Linked DNA regions of Homo sapiens: all the other regions are linked to region 1. Evidence: promoter capture Hi-C in 16 types of primary human blood cells and fetal thymus (Javierre and others, 2016). All regions are on one chromosome and are shown on one strand. The core of a region is centred on a gene start or on the middle of the fragment in contact, and the rest is flanking DNA. Distances in the headings are between cores, read along the strand shown.

What was found. Contacts are between HindIII fragments. The CHiCAGO score rates a contact against its expected background, and 5 or more counts as called.
Region 2: a contact is called between a fragment that was not itself captured here and the fragment with the promoter of MCM10 in region 1, in 1 of 17 cell types (fetal thymus). The highest score is 5.5, in fetal thymus.
Region 3: a contact is called between a fragment that was not itself captured here and the fragment with the promoter of MCM10 in region 1, in 1 of 17 cell types (naive CD8 T cells). The highest score is 5.0, in naive CD8 T cells.

What each region holds. Positions count from the first base shown.
Region 1 is chr10:13,160,293-13,162,830 of GRCh38, forward strand. It overlaps MCM10 (minichromosome maintenance 10 replication initiation factor), which reads left to right and starts at 1,266. Exons shown (of 20, transcript NM_018518.5): 1 at 1,266-1,314. RefSeq lists silencers at 1,015-1,328, 1,351-1,530. The HindIII fragment of the contact is 4,789 bases long and covers 1-1,982 here.
Region 2 is chr10:13,591,069-13,593,606 of GRCh38, forward strand. All of the region lies in intron 1 of PRPF18 (pre-mRNA processing factor 18), which reads left to right. It also overlaps the pseudogene RPL6P24. Among named protein-coding and RNA genes, the nearest start is that of PRPF18, 5.4 kb to the left of the region's middle. The HindIII fragment of the contact is 4,940 bases long and covers 1-2,538 here.
Region 3 is chr10:13,446,659-13,449,196 of GRCh38, forward strand. BEND7 (BEN domain containing 7) reads right to left here. Exons shown (of 9, transcript NM_001369863.1): 8 at 608-658. Among named protein-coding and RNA genes, the nearest start is that of BEND7-DT, 81 kb to the right of the region's middle. The HindIII fragment of the contact is 9,385 bases long and covers 1-2,538 here.

The DNA of each region.
Region 1 (2,538 bases), core at 16-2,515:
ATTACAGACGCGCACCACTACGCCCAGCTAATTTTTGTGTTGTGTGTGTTTTTAGTAGAGATGGGGTTTCACCATGTTGGCCAGGCTGGTCTCGAACTCCTAACCTCGTGATCCACCCACCTCGGCCTCCCAAAGTGCTGGGATTACAGGGGTGAGCCACCGTGCCCGGCCTTAGTGCCGTATGTTTAAAAGTACGCATTTAAACATACTTTTTCAATTTGATTACTAGAGTTCCTCCATTACTATGAATTTTTAACACTAGCAGCTCTCAGAAATGGTTGTATTCCTATTCCTGAGCCAATATAGGTTTAAGTAATAGGGCTGAGCTCATAAATGGAGCAGTAATATTCCATTAGGACACAGAAAAAAGTCAACGTAGATGGCATCAGGACTGTTTATCTTCAGTCTTCCTAAAGTCGATTTTAATTGTTCTGAAAATGAAAGTACGTAGTGGATAGAGATAGGATCTTATACCAAAGGGATTATTAGTGGGGGAACTGCAGTGCCTGAACAGTGTCTGCAAGGAGGAAAAGGGGGGAAAGACTTAAAGTGGCCATTTGGTCCATCAAAGTCTCTTCTGCTATCAATCCCTTGAAATTATGTAAAAGCTAAATGTTATTCTGCATTTAGAAACTATGTTCTTAGTATTATGTACAAACACTATTTTTTAGAATGTAAATACATAAAGAGGCCTGAATTTTACTGAAAAAAAAATCTGTGAAAGATATGGTCTGCTGATAAGTTCTCTTCAGCCCTGACGCCCCTTAGAAGTCCCAAAATCTATGGAACAGGAATTACTCGGGAAATGGTGGTTTCAGTGTAAAAGATGTCATCTACCCTTTCCCTCACTGCACAGATGGTGAAGGGGAAACTCAGAGAGATAAGTCACTTCCCCAAGGTCAGACAGGGTAAAAGTGGACCGGATCTGTTTGGTCCTGAGCCCAAACATTTCGAATGGACATAAGGCTGACAAAGGAACAGTCGGTCCCAGAGCGTCAGGAGTTGAGGTGGGATGGGACCGCAGGGAAAATACTGGGTGGGATGACTTAAACTTCCCGGCACCAGGGGGCGCCAGACACTCTATTTTACCTAAAGGAGACTGGCTTCTACCGACAGGAAGGTCCCTTGCCCCCAACAAAGAGGGCGTCCAATGACGTAAACCAATCCGATTGCTCTGTGCCAGGGCCGGGATTCGCTGGCGTAGCCAGTCAGTGCTGCCCCACAGCCGCGTGCGTCTGACGTCAAGGCAGGGGCGGGATCCGGTTGGAATTTTGGCGGGTTCAGCTGTGAACGAAGAAGGCGTCCCGGCATCGGGTGAGGAGCGCGGGCCCCGGGCGTGCGTGTGACCCTCGGGCGGCGGGGCCGGGGCCGCCTCGCACGTCTCTGCGCGGGTTGCAAGGGGTCCGAGGCTAGAGGCGCGGGGTCCCGGGAGCTCGGGTGGGCGCGATCTGGATTTGGCGGCAGCTTGGGACCGCTCGGAGCTGGCATGGCCGGGCCGGGGGCTGGGAGTTGCTGGCCGTCTACTAAGGAATCGGGTTCTTCCTTTTAAACGCAGCCTTTTAAGTGCTTGCCAAGTGCCTGCCGCCTGGGCTTTCTTTTATTCATTCATTCATTCATTCATTCATTGGTTTCTCGTATTCATGATTTGCCAATGATTATTGAATGCGGACGGTGTGCATGGCTCGGATCACATTTCCGCTGCCTTCACAGCGCTTACAGTTTAAAGGCACGAGCAGGTAGTAAACAAATGCACGACAGTGGACGACTCAGGGTGGTCCAGAAAGTCTCAGAAAGATGAGTAAGTGGAGACCGAAGGGCGAGAAGGACCTGGGGGGAGCTTTCTTCGACAGAGCCTGAGACCTCAAAGCAGCTTAGTGTGTTCCAGAAGGTGGAAGCGGGCTGGCCCGGCTGGAGCATCGTTATGGGTGTCGGGGTGGGTAGAATTGGACGTGGTGGATTGTGGAAAATGTGAGGGAGTAGAAAGCTTGGAAAGAGAGAGAGAATATGAATCATTGCCTCGCAGGCTTTGTAGATTTTTTCTAAGGGCAATGGAAAATCATTAAAGAATTTCAATGAAGGGACCCCCATGATCTGATTTATGTTCCTAAAGGTTACTAAGGAAAGGGAAGATTACCGTGGCTGTCGTATGCAGAACAGATTGCACGGGGACAAAGAGACCAACATAGAAAGCTAACACAGTCATTGGGTTAAAGGTTGACGGTGGCTTGGCCTAGGGTTCTGGCAGTGAAGTTGGAGAGAAGTGGCAGATTTGAGCAGTGTTTTGGAGATGGGACCACAGTACTTGTCAGTGGCCGTGGATTTGAGGGCGAGGGAGGGTGCACAGTTTCATTTTGGGGGAAGGCAAGGCCGGTTACAGACTTGAACGAGACAGTTTGCTCCTAACGCTCAGGAAGCTTACTGTCCAATAGGTTCCCCAGTAGATAGCACAGTGTGTGGCACATGAGGGATCCGTGGAAATGTTGGTTGAATGAATTTTTAAAAAGCGGCCAGGCGCGGTGGCTCACGCCTGTAATCCCA
Region 2 (2,538 bases), core at 23-2,522, 430 kb after region 1:
GTTCTCATATTCCTGTGGCCAGCCGGGATAGATCTCAAGTCTTAGACCAACTTGAGGGTGAGTGCTCTTGCATGATGTAAGGGAACATACACAACTAGGCGTCTTTTCTGTTGTATCCATGGGAAGACAGTCTTTAGATCTGCAGCTCTATCATTTCATGCAGAATAGTTGCTTTATATTTTTCATCTTTCTGCATCACAGTGTCTGTCAGTAACTTACAGACTTTTTCACTGCCCCGTTCATAGCAATACATTTTTATATATTGATCTGATATGTATGTGAAAAAAGTTTTATGAAATAATTCTTACAACCACAAATGATTTTATCATGTTTTATTCAGTCCTCCTTTTTTGTTATCAGTTATTTAATTAGGTTCTTCTTAAGAAATGTAGAACACCAATTTGTGAGGATAAATTCCATGAGTCGGGGCAAACACAGATCGCAGGTAGTCCTGGAGCTTAGGAATAGCTTTGATTTTTGGTAAAATTTGTGACTCCACAGCTTTCTGATCAATCTTGTGCTGCTCTGTAATCTTGTATTTATCTTTTTCTGTGCTGAAGATCTCAGCTTCCTGGTGTCTGGGCTTCTGCAGCTGCTGCTGCTTGAATAAGCATCAGTGGGATGTTTTGGGATTTTTACATCGCTGATAACAATTTTGGTTGAGGTGGCAATGACAGATTTCTGGTGTTTTCTTCATAGAGGAACTCGATTGAGGACCAGAGGTCCAGTCACAAGTAACAAGCCACTAGCCAGGTGCTTCAGGAAGACCGCCCTCTTGCCTCTGTGGAATCCAGTGAGGATGATCAGAACGTTCCCCGGGGTAATGCTGGTTCGCAGTTTTCTCACGTGTCAACTGAGGGTTTTTTTTTTTTTTTGCCATGGCTCAACAGCTTTTGAGGCACATCTTCAGTAGGAAAATATCTAGGCATTTTATGAAGTTTAACCACCTGGGTACTACCATTCTTGTCACCACCAACTGGTTTTGTAACAGTTGCAAGAACCTTCTTTTTCTTTTCAACCTCGTACTTAGCGGCTGAGTACTTCCTCTTATACACAGCTTTTCTGGAATACATAGCACATCGGGAATACCTGCCAATTCCTCTGACAAGGACAGGGTTGTGCTGCAATGGGGCTTCCCCTTCTTGGGCTTCTTAGCCTTGAGGTGACCCTTTTTCACCTTGTCACCAGCCTCAGCCTTCTTGGCTTTGGGTTTCTTCTCTTTAGTATCCGGCTTCTCAACTTTTTCACCCACCATCTTACAAGATGGGGAAGAGCAAGTCCCTTTGTTTTAATTTTTTAGAAAACACGGGTCAGGGATCAGTAGATTGTTGTCATTACCGCATCTGTAGCTGGAAAACAGTTGTCTGTGTGGTGTTGCTCTTGCAGAAAGAAGAGCCACCTCATCTTTGGTCATTTCAAGTGGTGTCCCAGCTTTTTGTGGTTAATCTGTGATAGTTGAAATAATCAGTACTTAGCTTGTGAGTGCCTCTTTCTCAAATTGCAGAGAAGTGACTAAGATATCCTCTTACCACCTGTCCTAAAGTGCCCTGCCTGGTGTAACCACCCTGAGGTAAATGTGTCTGCATTGCTAGAACACCAGTGTTTTGGAGCCTAGAATTGGTGAGTTTTCATTTAATGCAAAACCTCGTGTGGAAAACCAGGCTGCTCTAGAAACTCAATGGGGAGTAATTAGTAGTTTTACTAGTTGTAGTTATGAGGATGAGCTATGTGCAGAATTTTAGCTTTTTTTCCTTCCAGTATTTACTGCATCTTTCCTATATGCAAGATACTATGCTGTGCTGCAGTAACAATGCTACAATAATCAAAACAGCATAGCGCTGGCATAAAGAGCAACAGCTAACACCACTAGAGTATAACAGAGCACCCAGAACGGAGCCACCCTTACACAATTATTGATTTTTGACAAATACACTAAAACCAAATGGAAGGAAAGATATTTTCAGTAAATGATGCTGAACAACTGGATATCCATACGGAAATAATAAGCAACAACCCCTACCCCACATTATACAAAACATTCTGAAATGAAGGACCAATGGAAGGAATGGCAGGAACCAACATGGGAGACATTGGAAAATAAAATTAGTAAGGAAAACTGTATACTAGTTCTAATACATTGGAAAATCTAAGTGAAGTAAATGGCTAAAAAGTACAAAAAAATACAAGAAATAGAAAATCTAAGCAAACCAGTAAGTGAGGAAGACATAAGAAGAATCTGTCAGCTAAGAGGAGAAAGTTACTGAAGGAAGGAAGGAATGAGCAGTTAAATCGAAGACTGGATGAGATCAGTCAGAGAAGTCTCTTTGGATTTGTATCTTAGACATTATTTATGACCCCAAGGAGGTTTTTTCAGTGAAACAGAATGGATGTCCACATGCTGTGGGGCTGCAAAGAGAATTGGGGGTAAGGAAGTGGACACGGATTAGATTAAACAGTTTAATGTGGTTCTGCTGTAAATGATACCCAGGGCAGAGTCTTGAGCATACTTAAATTATAATTGTCAAGAGCCAGTAGAGA
Region 3 (2,538 bases), core at 15-2,514, 290 kb after region 1:
CTTGAGAGTCAAATAACATGAAGTTGGAATTATGTCTATGGCTTAACACAACAGCGTGCAGCAAATGCTTCCATGGAAGGGTATCTTCAGCTGATCTGGTCCTGGTATTAGGAATGTGCCACTCACGCCGGATGGCTGGCCTTGTTCAAATCGCTCAGTTAAAACATAGTATTCACTGGGTGTCCACTGATTGACTGCTCAAGGCTCCAAGGCCGTTTGGAGGAGGTGGGAGAGGACAGCCTAGCCATGAATTTGATCACACAAAATTAGTGGTCCCCGTTTTAAGGTGAAATCTCATTTCACGTTAAAAATATTTTGTAATGTCCAAAGGTTTGGGGAGGCAAAATGTTATGATACTTAGTTCTTAGGATTTGCTCTTCTGAGATTTTTATGAAAATAAGAGTGTGAGAAAAACGTTTTTCTATTCAGTATGAAAAACATCTCTGAGTACGGGGCCTTGAGAAGCTCCAATGACGGGGCCTGGTCCACTGCAGAAGCAGTTTGCTCAAGTGTCTGCATGTCTAATGTTAAAATCGTTTTCAATGCAAATAGTTTTGTGGGCTGTATTTTCCAGGAGGTGATGAAAATGTAAATGCGTTTTATTTACCTGTTGGTGGTAGAGCAATGCCGTCCAGTCTTTCATCACTGTCCGCGATCTCTGCTGGTTACAAACATAAGACACAAATCTCATTAGTTCCAGGGAGCACATTCATTTTACAGAAAATAGTGATGTAATTTTAAAAACTCCAGTATACATAACTGTTTTCACCATTCTTTTCTGTTTTCAGCTACCGTTGGTTCATATTACAGATGTTAATATCATTATTTGAATATTTTTTGATGATGGTGATATAAAATCAACTTTCCCGTATTAAAACTTTTTTTTTTTTTTTTTTTTTTTTTGAGACGGAGTCTCGCTCTGTCGCCCAGGCTGGAGTGCAGTGGCGCGATCTCGGCTCACTACAAGCTCCGCCTCCCGGGTTCACGCCATTCTCCTGCCTCAGCCTCCCGAGTAGCTGGGACTACAGGCGCCCGCCACCACGCCTGGCTAATTTTTTGTATTTTTAGTAGAGGCGGGGTTTCACTGTGTTAGCCAGGATGGTCTCGCTCTCCTGACCTCATGATATTAAAACTTTTTAAAATCTTATGAACCTCATTCTATTGATCACTGATGATTTCTGTTTATTTTCACTTATTTACATAGGCTTGAATATCGAACCAGCATGTGGGGTGAATTGTTTAAATAGGGTCATCGCGGGGATGTGTCAATGAATTCCTGCTGTAGAATTTGCACTTGGCATCGCCGGAACCACTCCTGGGGGGCAGCTTAGGAAATCTTGAGAATGAACCTTTCTTTGGAGATGGCTGATTCAGATCCTAGAACTGCCAATCTAACTCTGGCATTAACGTGGTCATGAAGAAGGAATAGGCGTTGCTTCAAAAGATTCTCCATTTCTAAGTTTTAAAATGCAAACCTTCGCTCGTGTCTGATAAATGTATCCATCTCCTTGGGAGTTTTCCAAAGGTAGATCCTTCAGTCACAAAAAACCTTCTGTTACATGCGAAAAAAAAGGTGCACGTGTGTCTCTTGACAAGGGATGGGCTTGTTAGTTTCCCGTAACATGTGGGGATGGGAAAACATCACATTATGGCCCCTGGGATAGTTTCGGTGGTGGCCTCCATGGCTCAGGGCCTGTGGTCCCCACAGGCAGGCCCCTGCTGACTGCATAATGTGCGTGGGCAGCCCTTGTGAGGCTGTTGAATGAGGTCAGCCTTGGCACCATGTTGTAACACTGAGTCAGAAGCAGCCTAAACTAGTGCTACGTACTTGTTTTTATTGTTGCTTTAAACATAATCAGGGCTTAGCTACGGCTAGAAATATTGTATGGCTCCCCTGTCTCCTTCATCCTCCAACATCTTGTCCTCAGATGGACGCTCACTGGCATTAATGAAAGACCCCTTGTCTGCTGACCTGCTAGATCCACCACAAAGAGAAATCACTGAGAAGGGATGAAATATGCAAGACCAACCTAGGTTGGATTAGATTAGCAACTGCTAAAAATGATGTTGTATTTGGGAGGCCGAGGCGGGTGGATCACGAGGTCAGGAGATCGAGACCATCCTGGCTAACACAGTAAAACCCCGTCTCTACTAAAAATACAGAAAATTAGCCAAGAGAGGTGGCAGGCGCCTGTAGTCCCAGCTACTCGGGAGGCTGAGGCAGGAGAATGGTGTGAACCCGGGAGGCGGAGCTTGGTGAGCCGAGATCGCGCCACTGCACTCCAGCCTGGGCGACAGAGCGAGACTCCATCTCAAAAAAAAAAAAAAAAAAAGATGTTGTAGATGAATATTTAACAACATAAAAATATTCAAACCATGGGATAAATGGTGTGATTAAGATTCTGGAAACAGGTTTATAGAAAAAATATGGCACATACTGAAATGTTAACTGTGTTTCCCTCTGGATGAAAGGCTTTAGGTATTTTAAATTTTGTTCTATGGCTTTTAGAAATTATTTTATATATGAAAAATAATGAA